Regions from separate parts of the Homo sapiens genome. Here all the other regions are linked to region 5. Evidence: promoter capture Hi-C in 16 types of primary human blood cells and fetal thymus (Javierre and others, 2016). All regions are on one chromosome and are shown on one strand. The core of a region is centred on a gene start or on the middle of the fragment in contact, and the rest is flanking DNA. Distances in the headings are between cores, read along the strand shown. Region 1 overlaps POLR2G (RNA polymerase II subunit G). Region 2 has its middle 8.3 kb from the start of ZBTB3. Region 3 holds the start of TMEM179B (transmembrane protein 179B). Region 4 overlaps ASRGL1 (asparaginase and isoaspartyl peptidase 1). Region 5 holds the start of EEF1G (eukaryotic translation elongation factor 1 gamma).

Region 1 (4,149 bases), core at 228-2,727, 190 kb after region 5:
TAGGTGCTGGGGTTATTGCCTGGAGAAGGGATGTGTGGGGGTGGGGAGTAATATAGGATTCAATGCCCAAATCAGAGAGACAGAAGAAACTTTCATGCTGTCTGCTTGAAAGATCCAGGACATTTGCCTTGGGATGAGGAGTACATGGTTGTGGCTACCCTAAATTCCGGTTCTAACTGATATGCTTTTTCTGGTTTCGCAGGGCTTGTAAGCTGAGCCTGGTGGCCTCCTACCCTTGGTCCTACTCTAGGAAGTGTGATTGTCACACTTATCATGTTGTCCAGAGGTCCAGTCTGGCTGCTGTTGTGGAGGCAAGGAAGGCAACTCATCCCAGAAGGCATCTGGTGCTTCTTGTAGCTTAACTACTGCCTCCTCATTTTTCAGTATGTGTTCTAAGTATAAAAAGTCCTTGGTTCTCATGGAAGTGTTATCTTCTTTTTTTTTTTTTAGCAGGAACAATAACTCTTTAAAGAGGCTGTGGAGTTGGCTGCTTACTAGCCCCTCTTTTTCTTAGACTGATGCCTCTACTAGCCTCAGCCACCCAGGGGAACTGACTAACCCATTTGTCCAGGTTTAAAGGTGACCTCACTGAAGTCAAGGCTCTGATGTTGGGTCTTTGGCTTCCAGCAAATGATACCATCATTAGTGGCATTCTGGGTCCTGATCTAGTTCCAGAGTGTTTGCTCTTCTCCTGCCCTTAAAAGTAACCAAGAGCATAGCTGGGAAAGAAGGGAGAGGAGACAGCAGACAGGGAGAGATGAATAAGAGGCTAGTAATGACACAGACTGTAGGATCTCAACACAGCCTTTCCTAAGTTGGGTATATAAACAATAGTATATCACTATACTAAACTGAACTGAAGATGTAAAAGGGCTCACAATCTAGTTAGGGTGACAAAAAATGTATGAAATGCCTACAGGATTAAAGAAACATGCCAATTTTCCCTGGCACTATACCTCTGCAATACTATTTTGTCTACCTTGGAATGCCCTTTCCCAGCTTGTCCATTTCCTATCTACTAATCTATGAAATCTCATTTCAATTATTATTATTATTTTTTCTTTAACTTTCTTTGACTTCCCTGGGAAACAGAGCTCTGTGGCAGAAAACAAGAAAGCATGGTATTTGGATTGATACAGAGCTGGTTTAAGTCTTAGCTGGACTCAAGAGGATAAGAGATGAGGCAGGTAAATTGCTTGAACCCGGGAGGGGGAGGTTGCAGTGAGCTGAGATCCCTCCACTGCACTCCAGCTTGGGCTTCAGAGTGAGACTCCATCTCAAAAAAAAAAAAAAAGAAAAGAAAAGAGTCTTAGCTGGATGACCTTCTGTTTCCTCATTATAAAATGGGCAGAAAACCCTCTTTGGAGGCTGCTGTATCAGACATCATATGTTCAAGTGGCTGGCATAGAGCCTGGTCCATGATGGGCACTCAACTTTTAATTATCATAATTATTATATAATGCATCCCAAAGCCAGTGCAGTGGTGTGTATCTGTAGTCTCAGGTACTTAGGAGGCTGAGGTGGGAGGATCACTGGAGTCCTGGAGTTCTTCCTAAGTTCTCAAATAGGGGAATAACACCAAGCCTGAAAGGAAGAAATTGATGGACAGAGAAGCAGCTCATGGATCCTGAGCATGTGGGTGCTGGTGAGGATGTAGGGTGTGGCATCGAAAAGGCTGGCACTAATTAAAAAAAAAAAGGAAAAAAAAAAAGCCTGGCACTCTAGTGGGGAAGGGAACAAGTGGGGATGCCCTGGAGATGGTTTCCAGAACTCTTCTGAGCTTTTTTTTTTTTTTTTTTTTGAGACAGAGTCTCACTCTGTCGCCCAGGCTGGAGTGCAATGGTACGATCTTGGCTCACCGAAACCTCCGCCTCCTGGGTTCAAGGGATTCTCCTGCCTCAGCCTCCCAAGTAGCTGGGATTACAGGCATGTGCCACCACGCCCAACTAATTTTGTATTTTTAGTAGAGACAAGGTATCTCCATGTTGATCAGGCTGGTCTCAAACTCCTGACCTCAGGTGATCTGCCCGCCTCGGCCTCCCAAAGTGCTGGGATTACAGGCATGAGCCGCCGCGCCCCGCCTCTTCTGAGCTTTTAAGGTTGGTACTAAGGGATTCTGAAAGTTACAGCCTCCTAAAGCGGTCACAGGCTAATAGAGTACCATGTGCTTGGCAACATGCTAAATCCTTTACACACTTTTCTGAATCTTCACAACAGTTCCATGGAGTAGATTTCGTTATCCCGCTTTATAGTTGATGAGACAGGTCAGACAGGTGAACTAATATGCCTAAGGTCACACAGCTGGTGAGCTGTGATTTTTTAAAAACAGTCTGGGCTTGTTGTGGTGGCTCATGCCTGTAATCCCAGCACTTTGAGAGGCCGAGGTGCGCGGATCACTTGAGGTCAGGAGTTTGAGAACAGCCTAGCCAACATGGCAAAACCCAGTCTCTACTAAAAATACGACAATTAGCCAGGTATGGTGGTGCGTGCCTGTAATCCCAGCTACTCAGGAGGCTGAGGCACAAGAATCGCTTGAACCGGGGAGGTGGAGGTTGCAGTAAGCTGAGATTGCTCCACTGCATTCTAGCCTTAGCAACAGAGCAAGGACTCTGTCTCAAAAAAAAAAAAAAAAAAAAATTGGCCGGGCATGGTGGCTCATGCCTGTAATCCCAGCACTTCGGGAAGCTGAGGCGGGCGGATCACAAGGTCAGGAGTTGAAGACCAGCCTGGCCAACATGGCGAAACCCCATCTTTACTAAAAATACAAAACTTACAGCACTTAGCCAGGCATGGTGTCGGACACCTGTAATCCCAGCTCCTCCAGAGGCTAAGGCAGGAGAATCACTTGAAACTGGGAGGGCAGAGGTTGCAGTGAGCTATCACGCCACTGCACTCCAACCTGGGCGACAGAGCGAGACTCAGTTTCAAAAAATAAATAAAAATAAAAATAAATGAATAAAAACAGTCTGACTTTGACCAGGCACAGTGGCTCATGCCTGTAATCCCAGCACTTTGGGAGGCAGAGGCGGGTGGATCACAAGGTCAGGAGTTGGAGACCAGCCTAGCCAACATGGTGAAAACCCTGTCTCTACTAAAAACACAAAAATTAGCTGGTGGTAGTGGCAAGTGCCTGTAATCCCAGCTACTTGGGAGGTTGAGGCAGGAGAATCATTTGAACCTGGGAGGTGGAGGTTGTAGTGAGCCAAGATTGCGCCACTGCACTCCAGCCTGGGCAACAGGGTGTTACTCCGTCTCAAAAAAAGGAAAAAAGAAAAAAAGTCTGACACCAAAGCCATCATAGTTCTTGCCAGGCATTGGGTGTGTGGAGCGAGCCACCTTTCTCCCATCTGTGGCCATGGAGGTCTCACTACTGCCTTCCCTGGTTCCTGCCTCCACTCAGATTGGGAGCAAATGAGCTCCAGACAGGTTGGATACAGGTTCACTACATCTAATAGGTCCCGGGCAGTCCCGGTCTCCCTCCCATCTTCTAGTGTCTCCAAGGTTGCTGATGGCTGTCCAGAACAGTAAACCTAAGCAAGGAGGTCAGCCAGCTGCCCAGGTCTGGCTAAGCTGACTTCAGGCTCAGTCAGACCTTAGAGGAGAGCGCCCTCTCTCTTTCCCTTAACGCACAGGTGGGCAGACACTTGAAACCACTTCTAATATGGTTCTGAATATGAGTGGAAGAGACTCAGCAGGGTCACATTCTCCTTAGGTGGGGTTGCCATGGCAACCACAGTCGCATCCATCTGGCTTTGCCAGCTCGGGTCCCAGGGGATTTTCTTTTCCAGCGGCAGCAGCATCTAACCCTGAGAGGGGGAAAGAGAAAAAATGTGTACATTCATGCTCCCTTGCAGAATGTTCCCACAGTTCACTCAGTGCAAACTACCCCATCTTGGGTGAACTTAAAGGAATTCACTGTATGCCTTGTGACATGTGAGGGAAAGAAAGTTTCTCTCTTTTTTTTTTGAGACGGAGATTCACTCTTGTTGGCCAGGTTGGAGTGCAGTGGCGCGATCTCGGCTCACCACAACCTCCGCCTCCCGGGTTCAAGCAATTCTCCTGCCTCAGCCTCCCGAGTAGCTGCGATTACAGGCATGTGCCAACACACCCGGCTAATTTTGTATTTTTAGTTGAGATGGATTTTTCTCC
Region 2 (4,338 bases), core at 1,378-3,877, 170 kb after region 5:
AGACTGGAGTGCAGTGGTGTGATCATAGCCTTGAACTCCTGGGCTCAAGGGATCCTCCTGCATCAACCTCTTGAGTAGCTGGGATTACAGCTTGAAGCACCTTGCCTGGCCCTAAATAAATATTTTTAAAGGAACCTTTGGACAGAGGAATATGTTAAATGAAACTACGGGGATGTAAGCAGCAAACTCCAGACCCTCAACCCGTAAAACAACCCCAGCTTCTTCAACAAATAAATTGCAAGGAAAAAGGGAAGGGAAACCTAGTAAAACTTAAGGCCAGGTTCAGTGGCGCACGCCAATGATCCTAGAACTTTGGGAGGCTGAAGGGGACAGATCTTTTGAGCCCAGGAGTTTGAGACCAATGTGGGCAACATGGCAAAACCCTCTGTCTACAAAAGATAGAAAAATTAGCTGCCACTAGGGTGCATGCCTGTAATCCCAGATATTCAAGAGGCTAAGGTGGGAGGATCACTTGAGCCCAAAAGGTTGAGGTTGCAGTGAGCTAAAATTGTGCCACTGCACTGAAGCCTGGGCAACAGAGTGAGACCCTGTCTCAAAAAGAAAAAGACAGTTAAGAGACATCAATCAAATAAATGCATGACACTACTTTGGATTCTAATTGGATTCTCATTGGGAAAAAGAGAAACTTGAGTAAGAATTATTGTCAGGGCCGGGTGCGGTGGCTCACACCTGTAATCCCAGCACTTTGGGAGGCCCAGGCGGGCGGATCACAAGGTCAGGAGATGGAGACCACGGTGAAACCCCGTCTGTACTAAAAATACACACAAAAAAATTAGCCGGGCGTGGTGGCGGGGCGCCTGTAGTCCCAGCTACTTGGGAGGCTGAGGCAGGAGAATGGCTTGAACCCGGGAGGCAGAGCTTGCAGTGAGCCGAGATCGCGCCACTGCACTCCAGCCTGGGTGACAGAGCGAGACTCCATCTCAAAAAATAAATAAATAAATAAATAATTGTCGGAGCCAGGGGTGGTGGCTCATGCCTGTAATCCCAGCACTTTGGGAGGCTGAGGCGGGCGGATTCCAAGGTCAAGAGATCGAGACCATCCTGGCTAACACGGTGTAACCCTGACTGTACTGAAAATACAGAATTAGCGGGATGTGTTGGCGGACGCCTGTAATTCCAGCTACTCGGGAGACTGAGGCAGGAGAATCGCTTGAACCCGGGAGGTGGAGGTTGCGGTGAGCCGAGATGGCGCAACTGCACTCCAGCCTGGGCAAGAGCAAAACTCTTATCTAAAAAAAAAAAAAAAAGGCCGGGTGCGTTGGCTTACGCCTGTAATCCCAACACTTTGGGAGGCCGAGGCGGGTGGATCACGAGGTCAGAAGATCCAGACCATCCTGGCTAACACAGTGAAACACCGTCTCTACTAAAAATAGAAAAAAAATGAGCTAGGCGTGGTGGCGGGCGCCTGTAGTCCCAGCTACTTGGGAGGCTGAGGCAGGAGAATGGTGTGAGCCCGGGAGGCAGAGCTTGCAGTGAGCCGAGATCACACCACTGCACTCCAGCCTGGGCGACCGAGCAAGACTCTGTCTCAAAAAAAAAAAAAAAAAAAGAATTATTGTCAGTTTTCTTGAGTGTGATAATAGTATTTAGTCTGCTGAAATTGCTTGCTGATGAAATTGTACAGGGCACTGTACAGCACTTCATATCACTTGACCCAATACACAAAAAAACTCAGGAGTCTGAAGTGGGAGAATCACTTGAGCCTAGGAGTTCAAGAGCACCCTGGGCAACATAGACCCCATCTCGAAAAACTAAAATAAGTGGCCGGGTGCGGTGGCTCACGCCTGTAATCCCAGCACTTTGGGAGGCCAAGGCGGGCAGATCACGAGATCAGGAGATCGAGACCATCCTGGCTAACACGGTGAAACCCCGTCTCTACAAAAAATACAAAAAATTAGTCAGGCGTGGTGGCACACGCCTGTAATCCCAGCTACTCGGGAAGCTGAGGCAGGAGAATGGCGTGAACTCAGGAGGCGGAGCTTACAGTGAGCCGAGATCACGCCCCTGCACTCCAGCCTGGGCTACGGAGCTAGACTCCGTCTCAAAAAAAAAAAAAAAAAGAAAAGAAAAAAGAAAACTAAGTCAGTTTATAGCTCACAAGCACACATTTTCAGTATGAAACTTAATAGGCTGGGGCCTGGTCCATACTCCTATAAAGGGAGACAGATTTTGGCTCAGTCTAAGGAAATCCAACAACTAGGACACCAACAATAGGTTTCCTTTGGGAAAGAGTTTTTTGGGTTTTTTTTTTTTTTTTTTGAGACAGAGTCTCGCTCTGTCGCCCAGACTGGAGTGCAGTGGCGTGATCTCGGCTCACTGCAAGCTCCGCCTCCCAGGTTCACTCCATTCTCCTGCCTCAGCCTCCTGAGTAGCTGGGACTACAGGCTCCCGCCACCACGCCTGGCTAACTTTTTGCATTTTTAGTAGAGACGGGGTTTCACCGTGTTAGCCAGGATTGTCTCGATCTCCTGACCTTGTGATCCGCCTGCCTCGGCCTCCCAAAGTGCTGGGATTACAGGCGTGAGCCACCACGCCAGGCCGAGGTTTTTTTTTTTTTTTTTGAGACAGAGTCTCGCTCTGTAGCCCAGGCTTGAGTACAGTGGCACGATCTCAGCTCACTGCAACCTCCGCCTCGCAGGTTCAAGCGATTCTCCTGCCCCAGCCTCCTGAGTAGCTAGGATTACAGGTGCCCGCCAGCACTCCCGGCTAATTTTTGTATTTTTAGTAGAGATGAGGTTTCACCATCTTGGCCAGGCTGGTCTTGAACTCCTGACCTTGTGATCCACCAGACTGAGCCTCCCAAAGTGCTGGGATTACAGGTGTGAGCCACCGTGCCTGGCCTGGTTGTTTTTTTTTTGTTTGTTTTTTGTTTTTTGAGATGGAGTCTCGCTCTGTTCCCCAGGCTGGAATGCAGTGGTGTGATCTTGGCTTGCTACAACCTCTGCCTCCCAGGTTCAAGCAATTCTCCTGGCTTGGCCGCCAAGCAATTAGCTGGGACCACAGGTGTGTGCACACTGACATGCCTGCCTAATTTTTGTATTTTTAGTAGAGACAGGGTTTCACCATCTTGGCCAGGCTGGTCTTGAACTCCTGACCTCCCAATAATCTGTCCACCTCGGCCTCCCAGAGTGCTGGAATTCTAGGTGTGAGGTGCCATTCCCGGCCTCAAGTGGAGGTTTGATAACAACTGGCAAAAGGAGGATTCAGTGTTAGACTAGAAATTAGATGAGCTGATCCCCAGGAGCCTATGGTTCCTTGAATCCCTGAATGGGAGCATTAAGACCAGTGGAAATGAGAAAGAATTATTGATCACATCTCTACAAATGGGCATAAACTGTTCCTACCATTCAGTAGATAAACTGAGGCCACAGGCTGGGTATGGTGGCTTATTCCTGTAATCCCAGCCACCGCTGCACTCCAGCCTGGGTGACAGAGGGAGACTCTGTCTAAAAAAAAAATCAAACTAAAAAAAAAATAATAAATAAAATGAGGCTGGGTGCGGTGGTTCACACCTATAATGCCAGCACTTTGGGAGGCCGAGGCGGGGCGGATCTGAGGTCGGGAGTTCCAGACCAGCCTGACCAACATGGAGAAACCCCGTCTCTACTAAAAATACAAAAAAAATTAACCAGGCGTGGTGGCGCAGCCTGTAATTCCAGCTACTAGGGAGGCTGAGGCAGGAGAATCGCTTGAACCCAGGAGGCGGAGGTTGCAGTGAGCCGAGATTGCACTGAGCCAAGATCATGCCATTGTACTCTGGCCTGGGCAACAAGAGTGAAATTCCGTCAAAAAATAGTAATAATAACGAGGCCACAGTGGCTGTAACTGTGATAGCTACTGCTTTACATATCTTGCAGGCTGGGCATGATGGCTCATGCCTGAAATCCCAGCACTTTGGGAGGCCAAGGCAGGTGGATCGCTTGAGCCCAGGAGTTTGAGACCAGCCTGAGCAACAGCGCGAAACGTCATCTCCACAAAAGATACAAAAATTAGCCATGCGTGATAGTGCATGCCTGTAGTTCCAGCTGCTTGGGAGCTAGAGGGGTTGAGGCTGCAGTGAGTCGTGATAGTGCCACTGCACTCCAGCCTCGGAAACAGAGAGACCTTGTCTCAAAATAAATAAATAAATTAATTAATTAAAATATTGCAAATTCCTGACTGCCACCTGCAAGAAAACATGCCCTTTATGCTGGATATTGAAAGCAAATGCTTGCTTCTCAGGAGAATCTCACCAGGAACAGAACCTCTTTAGCTAAGTAGTACATGTGACCACAGTCTGATCAATACAATGGTTCCTGTGTTCCCCAGACTGTCTGG
Region 3 (4,363 bases), core at 1,057-3,556, 210 kb after region 5:
CCAAAGTGCTGGGATTACAAGCGTGAGGCACTGCACCTCGCCTATCTTTTTCTTGAGTGTCTGTAGACTTTTGTAAATTCTGGCATGGTATTTTCTTTCCTTTTTTTTTTTTTCGAGACAGAGTCTCACACTGTCACCCAGGCTGGAGTGCAATGGCGCGACCTCGGCTCACTGCAACCTCTGCCTCCTGGGTTCAAGCGATTCTCCTGCTTCAGCCTCCCGAGTAGCTGGGATTACAGGCGCTCACCACCATACCTGGCTAATTTTTTGTATTTTTAGTAGAGACGGGGTTTCACTGTGCTGGCCAGGGCTCGTCTCGAACTCCTGACCTCCTGATCCGCCTGCCTTGGCCTCCCAAAGTGCTGGGATTACAGGCGTGAGCCACAGCGCCCGGCTGGTATTTTCCTTATAGGCCCAGCTGGTATTTTCCTTATAGTTAATTCTTTTTTTTTTTTTTGAGACGGAGTCTCACTTTGCTTCCCAGGGTGGAGTGCGGTGGTGTGATCTCGGCTCACTGCAACCTCTGCCCCCCGAGTTCAAGTGATTCTCCTGCCTCAGCCTCCCAAGTAGTTGAGATTACAGGCAACTGCTACTGCGCCCAGCTAATTTTTGTATTTTTAGTAGAGATGGGGTTTCACCATCTTGGCCAAGCTGGTCTTGAACTCCTGACCTCAGGTGATCCACTGGCCTCGGCCTCCCAAAGTGCTGGGATTACAGGCGTGAGCCACAGCGCCTGTCCAATCACAGGATTTTAAATTGTATAATCAGAGTCCAAGTCTCTGGTTGGTTGTTTTTATGCAGATTGTTTGAACTGAGTCTCAGTTTACATCTAAGTGAAGCCAGTACTTGCCTGATTGTATAGGGTAGCAGTATGCAAACTAAATTTTGGAGTTGTCAGTAATGAGCATTATTTAGCACACAGGGCAGTGATATTGGGTATATTTTTTATTGTCTCCCTTTGTACCTTATCTTTATTCCCAATGCCTAGCTTAGGTATACAGTAGGTTCCAAATAAATATATGGTTGAATATGCCAATCAGGGAATTTAGGAGGATTGAGCCCTGTCTAGGATCAGAGATAAAGGTAGGTCTTTCATGGGAAAGGGTCCTTGAGAGGGAATAAGTATCAAAGACATGCTAACTGTATTCCTTCTCTTCCTTCCAGGCAGTAGAACGAGTCCTGTACCCACACCTGTCCACCTACTGGACAAACTTGCAGGCTGTGCTGGATGATTATTCAGTATCTAATGCCCAGGTCAAAGCAGATGGACACAAAGTCTATGGAGCCATTCTGGTGAGTACCGTCCCCTTCCAGCCTCCCTTCCCTGCATGAGCTTAGCAGCCAAGCAGGCTTACTTTGGAATATTTGATGGGCCCAGGTTCCTCGAATTTTTTGCCTATCTTAGTCCTTGGCTCTTACAGGTGGCGGTAGAGCGACTGCTGAAGATGAAGGCCCAGGCAGCAGAGCCCAACAGGGGTGGCCCAGGTGGCAGGGGGTGCCGGCGCCTGGACGACCTGCCATGGGACAGCCTTCTCTTTCAAGAGTCGTCCTCCGGGGGCGGTGCAGAACCCAGCTTTGGGTCCGGCCTCCCGCTGCCGCCAGGGGGCGCGGGGCCGGAGGACCCTTCTCTTTCGGTGACCCTGGCCGACATCTACCGGGAGCTCTACGCCTTCTTCGGTGACAGCTTGGCCACACGCTTTGGCACCGGCCAGCCTGCACCCACGGCTCCGCGGCCGCCCGGGGACAAGAAGGAGCCGGCGGCAGCCCCGGACTCGGTGCGGAAGATGCCGCAGCTGACGGCAAGCGCCATAGTCAGCCCGCACGGCGACGAGAGCCCCCGGGGCAGCGGCGGAGGCGGCCCCGCGTCGGCCTCTGGGCCCGCCGCCTCTGAGAGCAGGCCCTTGCCGCGCGTGCATCGGGCGCGCGGGGCACCCCGGCAGCAGGGCCCCGGGACCGGCACCCGCGACGTTTTCCAGAAGAGCCGTTTCGCCCCGCGCGGCGCCCCGCACTTTCGTTTCATCATAGCCGGGCGGCAGGCTGGGAGGCGCTGCCGCGGGCGCCTTTTCCAGACTGCCTTCCCCGCGCCGTACGGGCCTAGCCCGGCCTCGCGCTACGTGCAGAAACTGCCCATGATCGGCCGTACCAGCCGCCCCGCCCGCCGGTGGGCGCTCTCGGACTACTCGCTGTACTTGCCGCTCTGAGTCAGTGGCCCCTTCGTTCCTTGTAAATAAATCCCGCCCCCGGAAATGACGTCTCCACCTTCGTGGGTCGCGCCGGATAAGGTGGGCTTTGGGCGGGGTGCTGCTGCAGCGGCGCTTCCTGGTGGTCAGGGCGCCATGGCGCTGTCCTGGCTGCAGCGCGTCGAGCTTGCGCTCTTTGCTGCCGCCTTCCTGTGCGGGGCCGTGGCGGCCGCGGCGATGACTCGGACCCAGGTGCGGCTGCGGGGCGGGGTCAGGTAGGCGGGGGAGCTGGCCGGTCTGGACATGGCGAGGCCACTTTCGCTTTCCGACCGGGCTTGCTGCTGCTCGGAGCCGGTGGACCTGGTGAGGCACGGCTGGCGCCGGCCTGTACCTGAAATGCAGCGAGGCTAATCGCGCTTTGTGGCTCCTCCTGGCCAGGTCATACTTCGAAGTTGTCCCCTCGCCAAAGGGACGGGTCAGTAGCGTCTTAAAGCACTAGGTGGAGTCGGGTTTCGTGGCTCCTGCTGCACAGCCTTACTGTGGTTCCGAAACAGAAGTCAGTGCAGAACCTGCGTCCATCCGTTAAATCAGAAGCCATTTGTGCTGAGCTTTGTCGAGAAATAAAGCATAGTGTAGTGGAGATGATCAAGCTGCCACATGATTGTAGCACAGTGTGTTAAATGACAAAATGAGAGATGGAGAAAACGCTGACGTAAAGGTAGAAGCCAATAATTTACATCGTTTACCCCAGCCAGGTAATCTGGTTAATAAACATGGGTTCATTTAATGCCTATAAAGTAGGCACTAGTGTGCCTATTTTACACCATGAGAAAACCTCAGAGATCCGCCGGGCGCGGTGACTCACGCCTGTAATCCCAGCACTTTGGGAGGCTGAGGCAGGCGGATCACTTGAGGTCAGGAGTTCGAGACCAGCCTGGCCAACATGGCAAAACTCTGTCTCTACTAAAAATACAAAAATTAGCCGGGTGTGGTGGCTCATGCCTGTAATCCCAGCTACTTCGGAGGCTGAGGCAGGAGAATCGCTTGAACCTGGGAGGCGGAGGTTGCAGTGAGTCGAGATCGTGCCATTGCACTCCAGCCTGGGTGACGAGCGAATCTCCATCGCAAAAACAAAAACAAAAACACTGGCCGGGCCTGGTGGCTCACGCCTGTAATCCCAGCACTTTGGGAGGCCGTGGCAGGCGGATCACGAGGTCAGGAGATCAAGACCATCCTGGCCAACACGGTGAAACCCTGTCTCTACTAAAAATACAAACAATTAGCCAGGCATGGTGGCGGGTGCCTGTAGTCCCAGCTACTCAGGAGGCTGAGGCAGGAGAATGGCATGAACCCAGAAGGCAGAGCGTGCAGTGAGCCGAGATGGCGCCACTGCACTCCAGCAAAAAAAAAAAAAAAAAGCACCTCACAGATAGTTATTTGTTGAAGGATATACAAGGCCTGGGTTTACTCTAAGGTTTCTGCACAGAGACCATAACTTGTGAGGCTTCTCTGAAGCTCATTGCATTCTATATTCATTGCCTATTTTCTGATCCTTCTGGCCACTGCCGGTGTGATTCCCCAGCAGGCCCTCTCCATCAATATCCCTGTCCCAGAAATAGGAATTGACGGTGCACAAATAACTTCCTGGAATGCAGGACCATTCCTAAGTTATCACTAACACCCTACCAAGAGACTGTATCTAGAGACATTAACCTGAAATCTAGGACTCAGCAGCTTCTCTCCACAGGGCTCCTTCAGTGGTAGATGTCCCCTGTATGGTGTGGCCACCCTGAATGGCTCCTCCCTGGCCTTATCCCGTCCCTCAGCACCATCCCTGTGCTACTTTGTAGCTGGGGCCTCTGGCCTCTTGGCCCTCTACTGCCTCCTGCTTTTGCTCTTCTGGATCTACAGCAGCTGCATCGAGGACTCCCACAGGTGACTGCCTAACCCTGAGGGCCAGGGGCTGAGGTAGGATGAGCCTCACCTCCACCACAAGGCTTGTTCTCTCCCTTTCAGAGGTGCTATAGGGCTGCGCATTGCACTGGCCATCTCAGCTATAGCCGTCTTCCTGGTCTTGGTGTCTGCCTGTATCCTTCGATTTGGCACCAGGTCTCTCTGCAACTCCATCATCTCCTTGAACACTACAATTAGGTAATGGGAGAGGGAGGGAAGCCTGGCTGGGG
Region 4 (3,889 bases), core at 271-2,770, 190 kb before region 5:
GTGCTGGAAACACTCCTGGCTGTCCATACTGATTTTCTGGGGGCGGCCGATACTGAAGTTCGGCTGGCGGCCAGTATTGATAGGCTACTGGCGGTTGGGTCTTATTTTCTACCGGCTGATATTGTGGATACTGTATTTGGATTGGCGTTGCCATGACAGAGACTCTCTATTTGATATTCTCTTGGGGTTTGTACTTGTCTAACCTGCATTTGAGGTTGTAATGTTACAGGCATCTGAACCGCTGGAAGAGGAGTTGGCCATCATGGTTTAGACTCTGATGGCCCCGCTAATTCTGGACCTTTTTCTTCTAATTCTAATGCTTCAGGATATATTACCTCCTGTAATTGATTGTAGTCAACATTTTGCATTGACCGAGCCATTACAGACTCTGCTACATATTTACAATGTGAACTTTTGAACTTTCCATTCCTTTCTGGGATTCTATCCCTGCCTATTCTTCACAATCTATTACACAGCTTTCAGGGGCATCAGCAACTGAAACGCTATCTTCTCCTGTTTGAAACAGTTCTAAATTAGCTGCTTTAATAATGGCCCAATCATTCCATACGGTAAGTGGGATGATTTTACCCTTCCTACTTGCTTGTTTTAATTCTTTGCCAATTTTTTCCCAATCTTTTAGATCTAAAGTTCCCTGTTCTAGAAACCATGGGCAGAATTGTTCTACTGTTTGAAATAGCGTGATTAGATTTTTTTGTAGAGACTCTAACTCCCCCCTTTTTAAAAGAATTTTAATAAAGCTGAGATAAGAGGCATATTTACTTTCAGTTTGCCCCATTGTTACCCTAGGTTCTTCCGAGGGCACAAGCTTACCACAAGACTGACTGTAGACGTACTCGGGAATCTCTCATCAACTTGTTCTCAATGACCACGCTCTAGCTCACCTTCACCCTAGAGAAAAGCACCCACGTTGGGCACCAGATGAAGGGGTGGCCAGCCCCTCTACACCTGTGGGCGTTTCTCATCAGGTGGGACGAGAGACTGAGAAAAGAAATAAGAGGCTGGGTGCGGTGGGTCACGCCTGTAATCCCCGCACTTTGGGAGGCCGAGGCCGGTGGATCACGAGGTCAGGAGATCGAGACCATCCTGGCTAACAGGGTGAAACCCCATCTCTACTAAAAATACAAAAAATTAGCCGGGCCCAGTGGCGGGTGCCTGTAGTCCCAGCTACTCAGGAGGCTGAGGCAGGAGAGACAGAGACAACGTATAGAGAAAAAAAAGTGGGCCCAGGGGACCGGTGCTCAGCATACGGAGGACCCCCACCGGCAACAGTCTCTGAGTTCCCTCAGTATTTACTGATCATTATCTCTACCATCTGGAGAGGGGGATGTGGCAGGACAATAAGTTAATAGAGAGGAGAGGGTCAGCAGGAAAACATGTGAACAAATGTCTCTGTGTCATAAATAAGGAAAGGTGCTATGCCTTGATGTGCATGTATACAAACATTAAAGAGCAGTATTGTCGCTAGCACCTCTCACCTCCAGCCCTAAGGCTGTTTTCTCCTATCTCAGTAAATAGAACATACAATCGGGTTTTAAACCCAGACATTCTATTGCCCAGGGACAAGCAGGAGACAGATGCCTTCCTCTTATCACAACTGCAAAGAGGCCTTCCTCTTTTACTAATGCTCCTCAGCACAGACCCTTTACGGGTGGGGTGTCGGGCTGGGGGACAGTGTCGGGCTGGGGGACGGTCAGGTCTTTCCCTTCCCACAAGGCCATATCTCAGGCTATCACATGGGGAGAAACCTTGGACAATACCTGGCTTTCCTAGGCAGAGGTCCCTGCAGCCTTCCGCAGTGTATTGTGTCCCTGGGTACTTGAAATTAGAGAATGGTAATGACTTTTAACAAGCATACTGCCTTCAAGCACTTTTTTAACAAAGCACAGCCTGCATAGCCCTAAATCCATTAAACCTTGAGTCAACACAGCACGTCTCTGCGACACAGGGTTGGGGTAGGGTTACAGATTAACAGCATCTCAAGGCAGAAGAATTTTTCTTAGTACAGAACAAAATAGAGTCTCTTATGTCTACTTCTTTCTACATAGACACAGTAACAGCCTGATCTCTTTCGTTTCCCCACAAATCCATATAGTATTTGAGTGTGATAATGTAAAAATCAGTATTCATTTCTAAATCTAAGTACTGCTTTGAGAATTTTGTTGGTAATTCCAGTTGCTGCTGCTTCAGCAGAAGGAAGCTTCTCCAAATTAAAATAAATTAAAAACTTGCTAAAAACTATGTTGACTCAAGAAAGCTTGTCTTTTGCCATTTTGTCAATAGAAGTCACGTTAAGTATAAGAACATCATCAGGGGCCGGGCGCGGTGGCTCACGCATGTAATCCCAGCACTTTGGGAGGCCGAGGCGGGCGGATCACGAGGTCAGGAGATCGAGACCATCCCGGCTAAAACGGTGAAACCCCGTCTCTACTAACAATACAAAAAATTAGCCGGGCGTAGTGGCGGGCGCCTGTAGTCCCAGCTACTCGGGAGGCTGAGGCAGGAGAATGGCGTGAACCCAGGAGGCGGAGCTTGCAGTGAGCCGAGATCCCGCCACTGCACTCCAGCCTGGGCGACAGAGCGAGACTCCTACTCAAAAAAAAAAAAAAAAAAAAAAAAAAGAACATCATCAGGCCAGGCTTGGTGGCTCACGCCTGTAATCCCAGCACTTTGGGAGGCCAAGGTGGGTGGACTGCCTGAGCTCAGGAGTTCATGACCAGCCTGGGCAACATGGTGAAACCCCATCTCTACTAAAAAATACAAAAAATTAGCCAGGCTTGGCAGTGTGCACCTGTAGTCCCAGCTTCTCAGGAGGCTGAGGCAGGAGAACTGCTAGAACCCAGTTGCAGTGAGCCGAAATCACACCACTGCACTCCAGCCTGGGCGACAGGGCAAGAGTTGGTCTCAAAAAAAAAAAAAAAATCAGTACTCCCTGGAATGAAGCCAAGAAAAAATATTTTAATGGAATAAATACATAACTTATTAAATGCATCTGTGTGTGTGCATGTGTGTGTGTGCACGTGTGTGCGTGTGTGTGTGTGTGTGTTTGCCATTCATCTGCCATCACCAGCCGATTAACAAATGACCCTGGTATGCACAATAATAACTAAGTTAAGTCATCATTGGTAGTTTGTCAGCTTGCAGTGAGCCAAGATCACACCCCTGCACTCCAGCCTGGGCAACAGTGCAAGACTCCGTCTCAAAAACAAAAAAAAGTCCGGGCGCAGTGGCTCACACCTTTAATCCCAGCACTTTGGGAGGCCAAGGCAGGCAGATCATGAGGTCAGGAGTTCAAGACCAGCCTGGCCAAGATGGTGAAACTTCATCTCTACTAAGAATACAGAAAAATTAGCTGGGTGTGGTGGTACACGCCTGTAATCTCAGCTGTTTGGGAGGCTGAAGCAGAGAATTCCTTAAACCCGGGAGGCAGAGGCTGCTGTGAGCTGAGATGGCGCCACTGCATTTCAGCTTGGGCAAAAGAGCAAGACTCCATCTCAAAAAAATTTAAAAAGTAGATTTTAGGTACTCTTACCACAAAAAAATAAAGAAAGGTAATTGTGAGATGATAGGTATGTTATTCTAGTTGACTGTAATCATAATTTCACTATGTATATCAAAACATTCATGGCTGGGTGTGGTGGCTTATGCCTGTAATCCTAGAACTTTGGGAGGCCAAGACAGGCAGACTGCCCGAGCTCAGGAGTTGAAGACCACCCTGGGGCCAACATGGTGAAACCCCGTCTCTACTGAAAGACAAAAAATTAGCCGGGAGTGGTGGTGCATGCCCATAATCCCAGCTACTCAGGAGGCTGAGGCAGGAGAATCACTTGAACCTGGGAGATGGAAGTTGCAGTGAGCCGAGATCACACGA
Region 5 (4,361 bases), core at 176-2,675:
AATTGAATAAAACAACATGGGAAGCTCCCTTTTAGAGATGGGGGCCACCACCAGAGTGACAGAATCGCAGGGCCTTGGTTTCTCAGAACCGAAGGATGCTCCCCATCTCCCAACTCACCTTGCCGGCAGGAAATTTGCGGAGAAATTCAGGGGTGCGGTTGGTTTGGCCAAAATGGAAGTGGGGTGGTGCGGAGAGCACGCGGACCTGAGCCCCGCTGTACTGAGCAGCGATGAGAGCCTTGAAGGCCCTCCAGTTTTCAGGATACGTGTACAGGGTCTATGGGAGAAAGAGAGGGACAAAATTAATGAGTAGAAGGGTCCCAGTCCTTAATGCCACTCTCCAGGATGACTTTCCTGAATAATCCCAATGTATTCAACTCACCCTTTTACTTCCTCTGGTGAACCAAGTCCTTTAGTACTTGTCATATGTAATCAGAATCCTCCGAAATACCAAGAACAGAACTACACACCAACTGCTAAATAAAGCTTGTTGACAGATTTGACCTTCCCTAAGGACACCTCTGGAAGTATTCTCTTCCTCTCAAATCTATCTCCAAGAAATCCAGAACTTCTAGCTCCATCAGACTCCATCTGCCTACAAACATACTCTCCTCCCTTCCCGGAGCCCTCGCTTCATTCATTGATGGTTCCGAGCGCCTGCCTACTCTACTGCTCAGCTGCTCACCGCTTCAAAAGCATCGTCCTGTCTCTAAGGCACGCACGACGATCGAGAGATTTCTAGTTCCCCTCAGACTAGCCAGAGATAGGGGATGGCATGCCGTCTTCTTAAATCAACTCCTCTCTCTCAAAAAGCCTTTCTTTCCGTGTCGCGAATATCATCCCTCCGGTCCTGTCCCGCAGCGAGTTCCCCGGCGTTGGGCTTCTCTATTATGCCGGCCAGCGGAGTCCAATTGGTCTGACTTCACTGTCCGGAGAATCCTCTCGCTCCCAAACCTCCCTGAGAGACGACCTTTAACCGTGCCAGCCGGACCTGCCTACAAAGACCCTCCTCTTCAACCTGTCCCCTGTGTTACTCCACAAAACGGACACAGAAGTTCGTCAACCTGCCCAGATACCACGCCTCAAAGCGGCAACAGAGCCGAACCCCTTTCTCAGGCTTCGGACGGCCCAGACCCGGCATCTCTTTTCTCCTCTTCCCCAGACCCTTCCACCTCTGGCCTCCGAGAGCCCCAGCCTCAGTTCCCCTCCAGGCCCTAGGAACCCTACTCTCCAGCAGTACAGTCTGTAGACCCCCGAATCAGTTCCCCACTCAACCTCAGAACTCCTCTGGCGCCGACTGGCCCCACTCGGGCAAAGGATGGCGGTGGATAGGATGACCCGAACCACCAGAGCCAGCAAACTTACCCCAGCCGCCATGGTGATTCCGCAAAGAAAGGGGGTGGGGTTCTCGGCGCTGCCGCAAAGTAAGCCGCCCGGGAGAGAAGGGAGGGGGAAAGAGGAGAGCCGTGGAGAAACAGCAGCCGGAAAGCGAGGACGAAACAGAAGACATACGTACGACAGTTCGGTATCCAGTGGCGCTGAATTGGAAAAAGAACTGGGTGGGTGGGGCCTGCTGGCCAGCGCGGAAAAAGCTCGGGCCTGCGCATTGGAGCTCTTGACTGGCCCGCCCCCCAGGTGCAGCGGGCCAATCGGAGTCTAGACGTGGAGGTAGACAGCGTGGAGGGCGGGGAAGTTGTGAGAACCCGCTGGAAAAGCCGCGAGTTCTTGGCTACGTGGCGCGGTTGTTGGCCCGGCGCGGCCAGTGCTACTGGGGGCGTCCCTCTCTGGCCCTCCCAGGGACAAGTGACTTGATGGTAGATTTTGCCAAGCCCCTCACATGATTCTATGAAACTCATGGGAGCGAGGAACAGCTGCTGCGCGGAGGTGGCAGTGTGTGTGCTAAATCCCTTTAGTTCCTGCTCTGCTTTTCCTCCAGAAAGGGATGAGCGTCTAACAGGGGCCCCGGTCTGAACCCGCCTGCCAAAGTGAGGTTTGCTCACATCCAACCCCTGACAGCTCCAGGGTGCTGTTACTGCGAGCAGGGCACCGGCCCTCCGGCCCGAAGCAGGGCAGGGACATGAGGGAGAACGCGCCCTGTCCCTCCCACCTCCTCCGGACTCGGCCCCTGGAGGGGCTGACGCTGGAAGACCTGACATCGTCGCTTCTGATGTTCATGGCTTTTGACCCATGTTCAGGTTTGAAATCTCTTACCCAGTTTAAGAACGGGATGAACTCTCCTCGTTTAAAGGAGAGAATGAAGAACGCTGAACGCAAATCTCCGTCCTTGTGCGCATAAATCTGAGGCGACAGGAAGAATGTGGAGGCAAACCTGGCTCTTCTCAGTACTGCTGGAGCCACCCACCGCTCTGCCATTCAGGAACTCTGCGCGGGTGCCAGGTGCCACGCGCGGTGCTGCCCCCGCACTCCCCTCGAGCTGTGCGAACTGTAGGAAGGAGAAGCTGGTGGGGTGGAGAGCAACAGGGAGAGACCCATGTTCGGGGTCAGACGGGAGCAGCTGCAGGAAGTTCTGGGGGAGGGGAAGGGGGATTATGACCAGATGGAAATGAAAGGAAACGGGAGACTGTATTAATAAACTAGCAGCTTTATTGCCCTTCAGGGGCCATGTCTTCACTTGAGATGTCGAATTGCTTGAGGGAGGAAAACCTGTAAGAAATGATGGAGATCAGGGAACAGGCCTTGGGGATCCTGGAGCGGGGTCACAGTGAGCATTCGGTCAGCCGGGGAGACAGACGCCACAAAGCTCAGCAGGGGCTCAGTTTCTGGCCTCTCTTCGCCACCACTCAGTCCTTTCAGCTCCTGGGTGACCTGAGCCTCAGTCGCCAGCCACCCTGCTCTTGTGCCAGCGCCACCTCCAGCTCCCTCCTTGGTTTGCTGCTGCAAGCGTCTACGGGCTCGCCGCCGCCCTTGCCACACTCGGTGCCACAAGGCACAGCGCCAGCTCGCTGAGGAGGGCAGGGATGCCCCCTTCCCTGCCTCACCCTGAGACCATTCTTGGGCTGCCTCATGTCCCTTGGGCCCCCGCTCTGCCAGGGCTGCGTGGCTGGGCTGCCCCTCTTCTCCAGGGGCTCCATGCTTTCCAGTGGTCAGGGGCAGGTCCCCTGGCTGCCCAGGGCTCTGCATGGCCCAGTCCTGCACCATCTCTCCAACCTCTATAACCATCTCTTCTACCCTGTCTTCCCCACCGTCCCCTGCACATCCCTGCTGCTCCTCTTTCCCCTCCTCACAGCAGTTTTTCTGTCCATCTACTTTGAGTCTTTTGCTTGTCCCTCCCTGAGAGGACTCCCCAGTTCCACCTCCTTCTGACCGCGTTCTCTTGGTTGCCTGTTCTATATGGCACCCCAGTGCTTCCCTGAATACCTGCACCAGGGCAGCAGTGAGCTGGGTGAAGGGTGCAAGGGGTAAAGGGATCGGCGTAGCAGAGAGCAGGGAGCTGGGGGAGCTGGGCTGCAGAAGAGGGAGCAGCCCCCAGTCCCGACCCCGGGAGGAACGGCGCTGGTACTGGAGGCTTCGGCAGTAATTGGCTGCTGCTCGGCAGCAGTTCTGTAGGCGCCCAGCCACCCGGCTGGTCACATTGGCTGCGACATTGTGACTCAGGTCAAAAGGGTCCTGGAGATTCAGGGGGCCAAGGCGCAGACCCTCCCAGAGATTAGAAGGCAGGCCCCCTGCCACAGGCAGTGCCTGACCCTCCCGCAGGGACAGCAGGGAGCCACGAAGATCCCAACAAGATACACAGGAGAAGAACTGGGCTAGCAGGGAACCTGGAGGAGGAGGAAGAGTGGGGAAAGGGGGGTCACTTAGAGGCCAGAACTGATACAGGTCCTGCACCAGAGCCATTTCCTTAGCAGGACTTTTTCCCTTCCAAGGGGCTCAGCAGAGTCCCAGGAAGCTAGGCTTCTCTGATCCCTATAAACAAGAGGTCAAACCTCTCTCCCTGCCCCCACATGATGTCCTTGCCCAGATGCTGCTGCTCCTTGCTAGCCAGTGTAACCTTGGGCAAGTCACTTAATTGCTCCCAAACATGGTTTCTTCATCTGTAAAATGGCAGTAATAATATTAGGTATCTCACAGGCTTTCTGTGAGAACCATGCCTGGCACACAGTTAGTGTGATATATGTTACCTACTGTTGATGAACATCATTACTAGTCCTCTACCAGGCTCCCCAAACTCACTGAGGGGCTCCACATTTATGCTGGGCTCCAGTCTTGAGGCATCCCTGGGGAAACTGCAGTCCCAGCCATCGACTTCCACCTGTTCCCCCTCTCCTGTGAAAGTAAATAAGGTGAGAGTCAGTCTGGAAGCAAGGAGATTGAGGGTGGGGGTAGAGAGATCTCATTCACAG

The links. Contacts are between HindIII fragments. The CHiCAGO score rates a contact against its expected background, and 5 or more counts as called.
Region 1: a contact is called between a fragment that was not itself captured here and the fragment with the promoter of EEF1G in region 5, in 5 of 17 cell types (total CD8 T cells, monocytes, neutrophils and 2 more). The highest score is 6.9, in total CD8 T cells.
Region 2: a contact is called between a fragment that was not itself captured here and the fragment with the promoter of EEF1G in region 5, in 3 of 17 cell types (naive B cells, neutrophils and naive CD8 T cells). The highest score is 7.1, in naive B cells.
Region 3: the fragment with the promoter of TMEM179B here is called in contact with the fragment with the promoter of EEF1G in region 5 in 17 of 17 cell types (monocytes, fetal thymus, activated CD4 T cells and 14 more); the score reaches 44.5 in monocytes.
Region 4: a fragment that was not itself captured here is called in contact with the fragment with the promoter of EEF1G in region 5 in 6 of 17 cell types (erythroblasts, megakaryocytes, M0 macrophages and 3 more); the score reaches 7.0 in erythroblasts.

What each region holds. Positions count from the first base shown.
Region 1 is chr11:62,766,292-62,770,440 of GRCh38, forward strand. It overlaps POLR2G (RNA polymerase II subunit G), which reads left to right. Exons shown (of 8, transcript NM_002696.3): 8 at 203-419. The coding sequence ends at 216. Among named protein-coding and RNA genes, the nearest start is that of TAF6L, 3.0 kb to the right of the region's middle. RefSeq lists an enhancer at 3,343-3,392. The HindIII fragment of the contact is 6,556 bases long and covers 1-4,149 here.
Region 2 is chr11:62,743,658-62,747,995 of GRCh38, forward strand. No RefSeq gene overlaps it. Among named protein-coding and RNA genes, the nearest start is that of ZBTB3, 8.3 kb to the right of the region's middle. The HindIII fragment of the contact is 8,358 bases long and covers 1-4,338 here.
Region 3 is chr11:62,785,096-62,789,458 of GRCh38, forward strand. It overlaps TMEM179B (transmembrane protein 179B), which reads left to right and starts at 2,307. Exons shown (of 5, transcript NM_199337.3): 1 at 2,307-2,432; 2 at 3,928-4,115; 3 at 4,197-4,331. The coding sequence starts at 2,337. TAF6L (TATA-box binding protein associated factor 6 like) reads left to right here. Exons shown (of 11, transcript NM_006473.4): 10 at 1,165-1,293; 11 at 1,422-2,247. The coding sequence ends at 2,201. It also overlaps a transcript of TMEM223 not described here. RefSeq lists an enhancer at 1,378-1,577 and a silencer at 1,828-1,937. The HindIII fragment of the contact is 7,473 bases long and covers 1-4,363 here.
Region 4 is chr11:62,380,990-62,384,878 of GRCh38, forward strand. The region is part of intron 4 of ASRGL1 (asparaginase and isoaspartyl peptidase 1); the gene reads left to right. Among named protein-coding and RNA genes, the nearest start is that of SCGB1A1, 36 kb to the right of the region's middle. RefSeq lists enhancers at 1,156-1,721, 1,722-2,287. The HindIII fragment of the contact is 1,392 bases long and covers 825-2,216 here.
Region 5 is chr11:62,572,466-62,576,826 of GRCh38, forward strand. It overlaps EEF1G (eukaryotic translation elongation factor 1 gamma), which reads right to left and starts at 1,426. Exons shown (of 10, transcript NM_001404.5): 1 at 1,366-1,426; 2 at 119-277. The coding sequence starts at 1,377. It overlaps TUT1 (terminal uridylyl transferase 1, U6 snRNA-specific), which reads right to left. Exons shown (of 9, transcript NM_022830.3): 8 at 4,192-4,284; 9 at 2,587-3,779. The coding sequence ends at 2,629. RefSeq lists enhancers at 1,395-1,594, 1,550-2,511, 2,295-2,354, 2,512-3,473. The HindIII fragment of the contact is 8,528 bases long and covers 485-4,361 here.